3 separate regions of the Homo sapiens genome follow, and regions 2 and 3 are each linked to region 1. Evidence: promoter capture Hi-C in human tissues and cell types (Jung and others, 2019). All regions are on one chromosome and are shown on one strand. Each heading gives the region's core, a stretch centred on a gene start or on the middle of the fragment in contact. The rest is flanking DNA. Distances are from core to core; before and after follow the strand shown. Region 1 holds the start of MOCS1 (molybdenum cofactor synthesis 1). Region 2 overlaps KIF6 (kinesin family member 6). Region 3 overlaps KIF6 (kinesin family member 6).

The links. The method cuts DNA at HindIII sites, captures the fragments that hold promoters and counts their contacts. A contact is called where the count stands out against the background at its distance.
Region 2: a fragment that was not itself captured here is called in contact with the fragment with the promoter of MOCS1 in region 1 in 2 of the 25 tissues and cell types used here (dorsolateral prefrontal cortex and pancreas).
Region 3: a contact is called between a fragment that was not itself captured here and the fragment with the promoter of MOCS1 in region 1, in 1 of the 25 tissues and cell types used here (spleen).

What each region holds. Positions count from the first base shown.
Region 1 is chr6:39,932,147-39,936,285 of GRCh38, forward strand. It overlaps MOCS1 (molybdenum cofactor synthesis 1), which reads right to left and starts at 2,316. Exons shown (of 11, transcript NM_001358530.2): 1 at 2,149-2,316. The coding sequence starts at 2,271. It overlaps LOC102723789 (a long non-coding RNA gene), which reads left to right and starts at 2,423. Exons shown (of 6, transcript XR_001744112.1): 1 at 2,423-2,497. The HindIII fragment of the contact is 11,059 bases long and covers 1-4,139 here.
Region 2 is chr6:39,395,926-39,400,064 of GRCh38, forward strand. The region is part of intron 15 of KIF6 (kinesin family member 6); the gene reads right to left. Among named protein-coding and RNA genes, the nearest start is that of KCNK16, 75 kb to the left of the region's middle. The HindIII fragment of the contact is 3,972 bases long and covers 347-4,139 here.
Region 3 is chr6:39,418,203-39,422,341 of GRCh38, forward strand. It overlaps KIF6 (kinesin family member 6), which reads right to left. Exons shown (of 23, transcript NM_145027.6): 15 at 1,746-1,801. Among named protein-coding and RNA genes, the nearest start is that of KCNK16, 98 kb to the left of the region's middle. The HindIII fragment of the contact is 3,152 bases long and covers 300-3,451 here.

The DNA of each region.
Region 1 (4,139 bases), core at 1,066-3,565:
CCTAGCTCTCCAAGCACCTCCCATCCCAAACCAGACTACCAGAGCCCTGTGTGGGCGTGTTGGGGGAGACAGACCCTGCAAGAAGGGGTTCAAGGTGTCCCCACCCCAACTGGCAAGCTCTGGAGATGAGCAGAACATATCCATTTCCAGACTCACCTCCCCTTAGAGTCTCCTCAAGACAAGTTTCTGTGCCCTCCCCCATCTTATGATGGGCTGGCCCAGTCCTCTCATTTTATAAACATGAAGCAAAGGGAAGTGACAGCCCCAGGAGCCAGGTGAAATTGGAGGCGAAACTGGCGGGTGAAAACATGGGACTCCCTGTCCAGTGTGGTCTACTATGCCACGTGACTCCTCACTAGTTAAGTTTCAAGCAGCTACAATTATTGGCTGAATCCACTGCCTGCACAACCCTGCGTTAAGCGCTTGTGGGGATAGAAAGGCGGAGGTGCACCCAGCCCTCAGGAACTCCCAGTCTGCTGAAGATAATCCTAATGAGATGTCCAGGATTCAATGTGAGTTGACAGAATAGCTATCCAACAAGTCCAGATGGGAGGGGACTCACAGGACAGAGCATGTGCCAGTGGCAGCATGGATAATAGTAATTACCACCAACATTTACATAACACAGCACTTACATGGGCTAAGCTTTGTTCTAAGTATATACGTTAACATACGTTAACTCTTTTAATCCCTGTGACATCCTATGAAGTAGACACTTTTATTCTTACTTTGCAGATGAGAAAACAGACACTGAGAGGTAAGGGGACTTGGTGAATCCCTAATAAGGGATGGGGCTGCCCCAGAGTCTATGTTCTCCTTTCTGCCACATTACCCCTCCCTTCACAGTGTAAAGGGATGGATAGGAGCAGGCTCTCTCCCTGGCCTCCACACAGGGAGGACGGAAAAGCATTAGAGTTGAGTTCCTGCCCTCTACAGCTCTGCGACTGGAGGAAAGTTAACTTAGATTAGCCCCCTCATCTGAACATACAAACTCTACTCACCTCACATGGCTTAGTGAGGACTAAATGCTTCCACATGTGAGTCACTCAACACAGGTTCTCTCATGAAAGACCAGTACAAAATAAACTAGGGGGTGGGGGGCTGGAGAAGAAAAGTCCCTTTTCTTGAATTCTTTAAAGATCTCTCAGCCATCTTTGCTTTCCTATCTCTTCCTCAATGATGTTCAGAGTTTGAGGATACTAAAAAGTCTTCACTTCCCAACCATGGGCCTGCTTATCTGAGGATCCCAGAGGGGCTTAGATTTGGGGAAAGCAAATTTGGCGGAAGTCATTGAGCAATATAGGGGAGGAGGGAGCAGTGATCTTATGAATCCCAGGACAGGAAGCCTAGTTCTGGGAGACGGGGAAAAAAACGCCTAGATAGGTACCGAAAAGAGGTTTCACTAAATGAAAAGAGGTACTTTTCCCCCCAAATTATTCCCTAACCACCTGAGCAGAAGAACAACCAAAACCTAAAACTTTTAATGACTTGAAACACTCTGAGGGGTGCTGGCAAGGACTGAGGGATCTTACCCAAAACCCTAAAGACAGAGGAATTAATTTCTCACCTGGAAGAAGCCACGTCCTGCCCTGTTCTGCTCTAGGATAAGGCTGAACCCTCCCAAGGTTAATAAAAAAGACAAGGAGAGTCAGCAAAGGATGGGTTACAGAGCCCTGGGACTACAGTAACAACTCATCGTTGGTGACACCGAGGTGACATGTTTAGTCAGTCGCACTATGAAGCAGGTGTCACAGGGACACCTGATCTCTCAGCTCTTGGGATAGGGAGGGAAAATGTTTAAGAAAGAGGGTGGGTGCAAGGCAAGGCTGAAAGGTACTAAGACACCTCACTGGACCCAAAGTCCCAGTCCTCTGCTTACCCGAATTTCTGGCCAAGCTCAGGGCTAGAAGGGGTGGCGTGGCTGGGGGGCAGGGAGGTTCTGAAGCGGGACTCCCAGGAACCTCTCCCGCTGGGCTAGCGGGTGAGACCGGGCGGTCCATCTGGAGAACATCGCTCCACTGAGGAGTGCCAACGGGTCCCTCCCAGAAGCGGTCAAGCAGATAGGCCGGGAGCTACTGGGGGAAAAGGGCAGTGTGCCGGGGCCACTCCTGCCCCGGGAAGCTGTGGACGCAGGCGGGGTGGGCTCACCTCCGAGGCAGCTCGCGCGGACTCCCCGGGGCAGGGCTGGGTCACCGGAGCCCCTGAGCTGCAGCTCCGGGCGCTGGACCTCAGAAGCCGCCGCAGCATCCGGGACAGTGGCCGCGCCGCCATGAAGCCTGATACGAGCGGAACCGCAGCCCGCTTCGGGAGCACACTGGCCGGGCACTCGCCCCCGGGGTCATCCCAGCAAGGGCGGGGAGGGGCAGGGGGAGGGCGGGACCCGCGCAGCCAATAGGCGAGGACGCAGTCCCGCGTGGCCTTGTGGGAGCTGTAGTACGCTCCCTGTGCCCACTTTCCTGGGCCGGGGTAGCGCTCTAGGGCAGAAGGGTAAACTCAGGTAAGGAACGGGGTTCTTTTCCTTCCAGTTTTTCTGGCTGCTCTAGTCTCAGATTTAGGTCGTGGTGTGACAGTAGGCAGGACAGGACAAGGGCCAAACGAATGAGGCACTGCCTTGGATGCAAAATTTAAGAGGGTGCCAGGTAAACTGCGGTTATCAAAGTAAGTAATTTTTTAATGTAATATTTCAAAAAATCGTAATAAATTTTCAGAAGTCCGTGAAATATCAACATTCTAAATAAAAAGATTTAGCCTACACTTGCATGACTCACATCACTCAGTGCACCATAGTGCAGATTGTGGTTGTAAAACGGTCAGTTAGGTCTTTCAAGATACACTTCTCCAGTTGTGCCCCAAAAGGATATTAACAATCTTTTTTTTTTTTTTTTTTTTCGTGGAGAAGGCAAGAGTATATGAGAAGTCACAGAATGAGTGGACAACATTTTTGAAATGCTTCTTATACACCAAGCACCATGCTAAATGTTATTTAAAACAATCCTGGTATGAATAGAATGTCCTTTTTGCAACTGAGGACATTGAGGCTTAGAGAGACCAGGTAATTTTCTCGAAGTCACACAGCTGATAGTGGGTTTCAAACCCAGGGCAATCTGCTTTCTACAGTCATTCAGTCAAGATTCAGTATGTGTTAGGAATGGTGGGGTGTGCCTCTTCCTCTCTATAAAAAGCAGAGTGCTGTAGTCCTTTAAGATTTTGGATAACACACACAATAATGAGCTTATGTACTAAGAATAATTATGCTCAAACCAGCCTGTTGTATCCAAAACCCTGTCCCTGTGGAATTGCAAGAATAAAACACCGGCTGGAACATACAGCTGCCAAGTGCATGCTTAGGAAGTGGGAATATAGCTCCTGATCTTGAAGAATTGACCGAATAGTGGGAGAGGAAAAAATAACTGAATATAACTGACTTTTACAAGTGCAGTGGGACTGTCAGAAAAGCTGAGATGATTTTAGCCTTAGATTCAATGTGAATTTCTCACAATGATACTCAAAATTCAGAAAATATATTGTAGGGGATGAAAGTGTATCTGGGGTGTGTTTGAAACTGATGAGACAAGTATGCCAGAGGTCTGTTTGCAAGGGGCCTGAAGACCAACTGAGGACTGTTCAAGCTCTGTCCACTGCTAAGTTTAGATATGTCTGGATTTATCAGGAAAACTGGGTATGGGGGAGAGAAGGATAAAAACTTTTTTTTTTTTTGTATGTATGAGGCTTGAAGAGCCTTCTAGAGAGGACTCAACCTCAGGGAAGAAGCCATCTGACATATGAACTTGATCCAAGAATGTCACCAGCTCCTTGGAGCCTCTCTAGATTCCACCCTCTTCATACAAGTTGTATGTGATCATCCCTTCACTTGGGCTTTACTGTCATCTTTTATAGAACTTGGGTCTCCAAGGCAAGACCTAAGGCTTACTCAGTTCTGTTTGAAGGCTGAAATCCTCTCCATATTATCATACATCTACTTGGACTCCTGTAGTGCTGGGAAACTTTCTGGCTTCCTGATGTTGTCTGGTCCACTTAAATGTTTCCCCACCTATTAAAGTTCTTACTTGTATTCAGCAAAAAAGTGCCCCTTTCTGTCAACATATGGTGATTAAGTGTCATCAGGGCCGAATCCTCTG
Region 2 (4,139 bases), core at 1,083-3,582, 540 kb before region 1:
AGTTTTACATGGCTCTTTGATATAAATAATCAACTCTTTCACTCCAAAATAAAACTTGATTCTACTCATTTAATTTTAAATCAGTTAGTGCTTAAAAAAAAGTCAGTGGGAAAAAACAAGCCCCAATTAAGGCTCACTGCTGGACAAACTTCCAGCTGGCCTGTAAAATAATTGCCTAACACAGAGTTGGTGCTTCATGATGTGGGAATTGTTCTCCATTTGAAGAGACTGGAGATTAGGAGGAATGTGTTAGTGAGTTTGTGAATAAAAGACAAAACTGAATGGAAATGGTTTCAGCTTCCAGGTTCAAAAGTCATTGTTAGATGTTGCATATGCACGTTGCGTCTTTCTGGTGCAATGGGCCAGGCCCACCATTGAATCTGTGAGGCTCCCTGTGCTCTGTCTCTGCACTCACCTCCATGGGAGTGGCATGGGGGTGGATACATTAGTGCATCTCAGGAAAACCATCCAAGGGAGCCAACGGGGGCCGAGCCCAGCAGGTGCACTGGGAAACTGTGGTGGAGTGGGGAGCCAGAGAAAGGTGGCTAGCCTTCAGAGACAACTGAACAGCAGTGAAGGCCCGTCAGAGGAGAGGGAGTGGAAAACGGCAGGAGAAGTTGCAGAGGGAATCCTGGGCCTACAATAATGGAAAGAGCATGGGTTCTGGGAGCAGGTAGACTGGCACTGCCACCTCCTACTGTGACCCTAGGCTACTTAATCCCTTTGAGCCTCAATTTCTTCATTAAAATAGGGTGATAACACCAACCTTGCAAGGTTGCTGCAAGAATTAGACCCAAGGTACATAAAGCCCCCAGCACAGTGCCTGGCACATTGTAGGTGCACAATGAGTGGTGGTCATCATGGTGGTGGTAGTAATAAAAAGTAATGATTATGAGGTGGGTGGCTCTGATTACAAATAACACTGCATGGAGGATTGAAGCAAGCTAACCTATTGCAATTGTTTCTAAGGTCTTGATCACATTCAAATATGGCAGGACATCTGTATTTTCCCCTGTTCCCTTTTAGAAAAGCATCTTTCAGGCCTAAATTAACAAGTTATCGTGGGCCCAGCAGACTTTGCTGAAGTGCCTCTCTCCGCCTCGGTGGGGAGGAAGGGGGGACAGTCACATGTCCTTGCAATTGTCCAAATCAGGGTTTCACAAAGCAGAGCTGTGACCTTTCAGCACTCGCTGACTCCAACTTTTTACAAATTTAGTTTATCTTTACTAAACCTTCTCCCTTCTGATCAGTTATTTACCCTCAAATTCACCATCACTTTAGTTAGTAATGGGGTCTTCCATATTCCGTTATAGTCAAATATGATTGATTTCTGTAATTGGAAGTAAATGACTTTTTAAAAAGCTTGCTTGAAATGCTGGTGGTAATGGTTCTGTTTTCAGAGCCTGGGATGATTTCTATCCCCATCCCGTTATTTTACTTTATTTTATTCCAGAAAAATAACACCAGAGCTCTTTCTCCTTTTGTTTCCTCTGAGGCTAAATATTTTCAAAGAGGAAAGAGGAAGGAGAGAGGTGGAGATGGACATCCCACCATTTTACAGACGGTGCTTTTCAGGAGTGACATATTTCAGGAAGAACATCGTTTCCCCCTCCCTGAACTTGAGTTCTGCCTGCCTGAAATTCCAGTACGCATGGCTCTGTTTCTTACCGATCTCAGTCCTGGTGGATATAAGCTGGTCATTTTGGGGATAATGCATAATAAGGAAATCTAGGGAGTTAGGACTAGAAAAAAGAGGCAAAGCAGACAACATAACCAAATGAGAGGTTTTTGCAGTGAAGCTTTGGGAGATGAGGGAAGCTGCAGTACACATGGCCCGAGAACTACACTTCTTCAGCCAACAAAATGAGTGAGCAGGGGGAGCGGGAAATCAGAAGGTGTGTAAGAAGGGCTGATGGCACGATTTTGGGTGCTGTGTCTCTGGGGAGTCAACAATTCCAAGGGCTAATATCAGGAAGGCAGTGAATACCCAGAGAGAAGAAAAACAGAGATGGAGAGGGAATTGCCACAATATGCAAAGATAAAAATAATTTACAAGCTTCAGGTTGAATCTTTAGGGGAGAGAGATCCTGAAAAATTTTCTGCGTCCAAGGGATAGTAAATGGAGGCTAAATATACAGAGCCCATTATGATGAATGAAATGTTATTATGATTCTTTAGTGTATTGGTTTTAATGTTTTGTTTTGGTGAATATAAAAATATTTGTAGGGACTTTTATAGGTTTACTTGTAAACTTAATCTTGCTTTTCACATAAAGGCGTAATCCTTAATTATGGCTTTTTCTATCACAGGGATGTTCAGTTCCTTCGTGGCTAGGGACAGGTGGATAACTGTTTCCTATAATGTGGGAGATGTGATAATGTACATCCCAGAGCACAGCACTTGTTTCTAATCCTCATCGAAGCAGAAGTTGATTTCATTTCAGCTAATGGAGCATATTGATCATCAGCTGCTCCAGGGTCTAACAGGTGCCAGGAGGAGACCAAACCTTCACATTCTTTGAACTTGGGAAGGTAAAATTTCCAGAATAAGGAGCAGCCTTTGCCTTCTATGAGAAAGTCTGGATATTATCTTTGAGAAAAACATGGCTCTGTTGGAGACAAGCTAATCATTTTAATGGGGCATTTGAGGTTTGTACATGTAAGGTAAAGATACACCATTATTTTGGGGGAAGCTCTAAAAATGAAATAACCCAAATGCAGGTAGGTGCTTCTAAGTAAGAGTTAGATGTTCTATTTAGTATTCTGTCTTCAGAAACACAGATCGGGTGCTTCTTTAGCAGAACTATAGGTTTGCAGAGCTAGAGATTAAAAAATATCTTCATACAGTTTATCTATGCCTAAAAAGTAATGCTTGTACTTTGGATGTTGTGATGGTTAGTTTTATATGTCAAAGCGTATAGGCTACAGTGCTCAGATGTTTGCTTAAACACTAGTCTAGAGGTTGCTTTTAGATGTGGTTAATGTTTAAATCAGTAGCCTTCAAGAAAAATAGATTACCATCCATAATGGGAGTGGGCCTCACCCAGTCAGTTAAAGGCCTTAAGAGAAAAAAGACTGAAGTCCTCCAGAGCAGAATGAATTGTGCCTCCAGACTGCCTTTGGACTTGACCTGCAACATCAACTCTTCTTTGGCTCTCCAGCTTATAGGCTTGCCCTGTTCGAGTTGAACTTGCCAGCCCCTACAATCTCATGAGCCAATGCCTCAAAATAAATCTCTCTCTCTCTGTATCTATGCACATCCTTTTGGCTCTGTTTTTCTGGAGAACCCTGACTAATACAGATGATGTGGATGTGTCCTTGTCCAAGCACCTGCTGTAGCTCTTTGGGAACAGTGGGCAGTCAACGGTGGGATGAATATGTAGGTCTGATCTTGTCCCCACCTCACATGTGAATGGAGACTTTCATCCAGGTACTCAATAGTGGTCACAACAATGAGGGAAAGACACTTTTGTACTGAGTGAGCTGAGCCGGGTCCTGCGACTAAAGAACCGCCTGTCTCATCAGGCCAATGGCACCCCCATTGAGAAACGCTGCTTTTGAGGAAAGATGGAACAAGTTGTTGGTCACTGGGGGGAGTCCCACCTTGACTGATGACATGCTTGTGTCATTGAAGACTGAATGGCCCAGAGTTTTGGAAAACAAACTGCTATAAACTATCTTGTGAGAGCTATGGGTCCAGGCAGTGCTCTGGAGAAAGTGAACATACAAATAGGCTGTTGGGCCCTGTGTCCACTGCAGGTTTTTCTTGGAGCAGGCCTGCCTGAGGGTGTGTGGAAGCCTCCATGAATGAGGCTGGAAGCCTATGGGTCAAAGCCCTCCAAGAAACCAGAAGGAGCTTTCAGCTGCTCTCCAAGAAGCATTTCTTTTAAGCTTAAGCCTCCAACAGTACCTTGTTCAAGTTTGCCTCACCTAGTCAGATGCCATCGCCAGGGCCACAGGGTCTTTGAGGCTTGGTAGCAGCCACCAGCAATGGCACCATTAGAGGATAGCGTGCCCAGCAGGCAGCAGCCCCTATAGCACGAGAGCAGATAAGGAAGACAGAGGGGAAGGGCCTCAGGCAGGCGCTCCAGAGCAGTGCTTGGAGGCAGTGCTTGAAGAGACTTCTGGGTACAGTCTGGG
Region 3 (4,139 bases), core at 626-3,125, 510 kb before region 1:
ACTCCCAGTTTTTCTCATGCAGTTTTAGGATGTTCAGGAATCCAGGTCAAGAAAGGGGTTTGAAATCTTTTTTTGTGCCAGCGATCTTCTGGCAGTCTGATGACCTTACGGACCCCTTCTCAGGATAATAATTTGGTGCATAAATTAAAATACGCAGGCTTTTAAGATAAACCAATTATATTGAAATAGTTATCAAAATTGTAAAACCTTTTGTGATACAGAAATATCTATGTACTTTTATATAAATGTATTAAATAAAAAGATCTAATGGTGAGTCTAATAACCACTGTAATTTTGTACTGATAGCACAAAAGATATTTTACAACGTCTGCCCCTCTGTGATATGACATGCAGGCCTCTGTGACTTCCACTGGGTTCATCATTGAGGTGGTGCTAAGTTTCAGTTAGAGGTTAGTAGAAATACAGGGGCATTTCTCTCCTATCAAGATCCTGGACCTTAGGTCAAGAACTCCTGAGACACAAGGATTCTGAGTGTGGCTGTTGGCTGTGTCTCTGGGTCTGGCTGCCTCAGCCCCTTCTGTCTCAGGCCACAGAGGGGACTGTGGGGCTCCTGTTTACCGACCGAGACAAACTGAGGCTATCGTGATTTTTATATTCTGTTAGAAAAATTAAAGGGGGCACTCACAGTGGCTTCTGTCCTGTCCTCACTTGTAGGCGGAGAAAAGGGGGTAGTAAGAGAGACCCAGCGGGCCAGCTGTGAGCCAGTAACTGCTGCCTTCTCCAGCACAGAGGTGAGGCACAGGGATCGCCTCTGTGAAGCTGCCCTGGGCCTGGGAGATGGGTCTCTGTGGTATCTTTTAGTTTGGGATGAAAAAAACATTGTCCTCTTACTTTTAAAAGGATTTGAGGCTGGGTGTGGTGGCTCACCACCTGTAGTCCCAGCACTTTGGGAGGCCGAGGTGGGTGGATCACTTGAGGTCAGGAGTTCGAGACCAGCCTAGCCAACGTGGTGAAACCCCATCTCTACTAAAATCACAAAAATTAGCTGGGTGTGATGGCATGCACCCATAGTCCCAGTCACATGGGAAGCTGAGGCAGGAGAATCACTTGAACCTGGGAGGTGGAGGTTGCAGTGAGCTGAGATCACGCCACTGCACTCCAGCCTGGGCAACAGAGTGAGACTCTGTCTCAAAAAAAAAAAAAAAAAAAAAAGAGAATTCGAGGCACATTTTACTGAGTTGCCTCTTGCCTTAACTTCACCTTTGCAGGGGTACTCACCTAAGTGGGGAGCCCTCCGTGGCAGCCTCCACCTTGGGAAGGCACGATGGCTTGTTTTTGCTTCTTATCCTTCCACCAGCTTATTGACTGATGCTAAAATATCATACCTGTGCCAAATATGCTAAGCAGAAGCTTTGGGAGGTGTAAGAGTGTTTCCCCATACTTGAAATACGAAATGACGTCTCACTGTAACCGTGAAGTTATGATTAGCTGAGCTACTGCTGAAAAACACCAGGGAAAAGCACAACTCTCTGATTGGGATGCTGGAGCTCAGGTCTGCCTGAGGATGAAAAGTTCAAGTTCTAGACAAAAGAAAGTGCTTTTCCTGCTGGGTGGTGGGAGGGATCACACACTTCCTAGGGAAGGCTCTCAAAGCAGCTTCCTTGGCAGGGGCTCTCCTGAAACTGGCCATTTGGGGCTTCATGGCCATTTGGAGGCACATCATGACCTGATTTTCACCAGGAAAATGGTTTCTGAAAGAGGCTCACAGAATATCATCTGCTTACCAATTTTACTTCTTGCTTCATTTATACTTTCTCCCAGGGCCTTGGCTTCAGAAAATCTGGAGGGGAAAAAAATGAAAATTGTAGTTTTTCTGTTCATCCTACAAGATGTTTTAAAAATAATAGATTTCTTAGAGGTCACTAAAATATGATGAAACTTTATTGAAAGACACAAAAGAAAAATCTAAATAAGTAAAATATATTAGGCTTAAAAATAGAGAGAAAATTGGTATTAATTATAGGTATTGTTAATTTTTACTCTATCCAGCACAGAATTTGTATTCTCATAGTCTCTCATTTATGACTTTTAATTTATATTATTTCATGATGCAAAGATATCAGAATAAAGCCTGGCTGTAAGGTTTCTGTGCTGTGTTCTATTGATTATGATACCAAGATCTTATAACCAAAGAATATATACTTACATAACTTTTTTCTGATTATAAAATAATATATCAGAGGTTGTAAAACTATGGCTGGTTATGAGACAAATCTGGCCTGCTGCCTGTTTCTGTAAATAAAGTTGCCCTGGAACACCGCCACTCCTATTCACTGACGCATTTTCTGTGGCTGCTTTCACGCTACAAGACAGAGTCGACTAGATGTGACAGAGACTGCGTGGCCTACAGGGCTGAAAATATTTTCTACCTCACCCTTTATAGAAGAAGTTTGCTGATTCCTGTTATATACCGTTATTAAGCCAGATTTTGAAAATACAAAAACAAGAAAAAAATTCTCAAGTACTCCTCTACCCAGAAATAAGCACATTGGATACACGTATCCACCCCGTCTTTTATAGAGCCAGTTTTTATAGGGTTGGGATCATAATACAGATATGATTTTGTGCCCCGATGTTTTTTTTTCACTTAGCATTGTAACATAAGTCCTTCCCTGTATTATGAGATGCATACCTTTGATGGCTTCATGCTAGTCTACTAGATTGCTGTGCTAATGTTTAGTGAGTGATTCCTTTATGTTTCTGGCCTATGTTTGAGACACCCACGATGAGCCAACTTTGCGCTAGAGAAGCAGACAGGACATGGCCTATGTGAGAACATGTAGTTCAGTCCCTATACATAGTGGGCCCTCATGAAATGTTAGTTGCTTTCCCTCCTCTCCTTTCTGCCATGAAGTTAAAGAGACAATTGAAAGCCTATGAAAGCAAGCACCTAATAGATAGCTGAATTAAATGGCTGTACCTTGGCGGGGCTAGTCATGCCATTAGCGTTTGACTAGGGAGTGGCCTGTCCACGAGTGAGCGGAGAGCTGTCAGGAAAGCTTCATGTACAAGGTGGGAGTGACCTGGGTTTTGTGGATCCACAGGAGTTTTTAGAAAATGTTTTATTATGAAAATTTCCAAATATACACAGGATAGTAGAATGAACCCTAACATACCCAGTATCACATTTTATTAATTGTCCAGTTTTATTTCAACTATTTCCCCTCCTCCTCCGCACTCTTCTCTTCTCACTTCCCCATCTCTAATATCCCGGCAAATCCCAGATATCCTATTGTTTCATCCTTGAACACTTTAGTTGACTGGGATTGTGTTGGAGGAAGTGAGCAGAGGAGGGCATTCCAGGCAGGGGAACAACAAAAGCAAAGGCCAGAGTGCCACGACTGCTCTGTGTTGGATGGAAAAGAAGTGTGAATTATGTCATTGCTATTTTCCAAATCTGTCTGCTTGGCCTGGGACTGTGGACAGGAGGTTTCCAGGGAAGGGGACTAAAGTTTTTCTCAATGTTAGTTTCTTGGGACTCCGCCCCTGGCTCCCTTATTAAGGCTGTTCAGGCTCATCGTAGATTATGTATGTTCTCTCCTCAGCGACGGCCTGTCACCTTCCAGGGAGAAGTACAGTTCCACTTGATGCAATTCAGACATTTACATGATGCACAGGTCACTGTGCTGGGCTCTGTGGGCTCATATGGCCTCTGCTGCTGGGCAGGCATAAGGCGACATTTGCTGCAGGCCATTTGGAAGATGAGGACCATCTTCAACTCTCCATTCTGCCAAGGGAGGGCCTATGATCATTTCATCACTGCTCTGTCCATCCCTAGTACCTAGGATTCATAGGATCTGACAGTCACACGTTGCTCAACGAGTGACTCCTCCCATTTCCTGTTCCATAGGCTTCTGGAAGCTTTAGACTCTTCGGAATAAGGAAAATACAAGAGCAAGGGTGCAAAACTGCTGAAATTCACACTGAAATTCACATCAATGCTGGAGGAAACCAGAGTACAGATAGAAAAGGAAGACAACATAAGCAGAAGAAGGACTTTCCACCGCAGTGCTGCCCAGAGAATCCCTGACAAGCCTGGGATGGAGTCCCCCAGCCTTGGCGGTGCCCAGATGTGTCTGGGGGGCCTGGCAGAGGGAGCCGCTGAGTGCTGTGGTCAA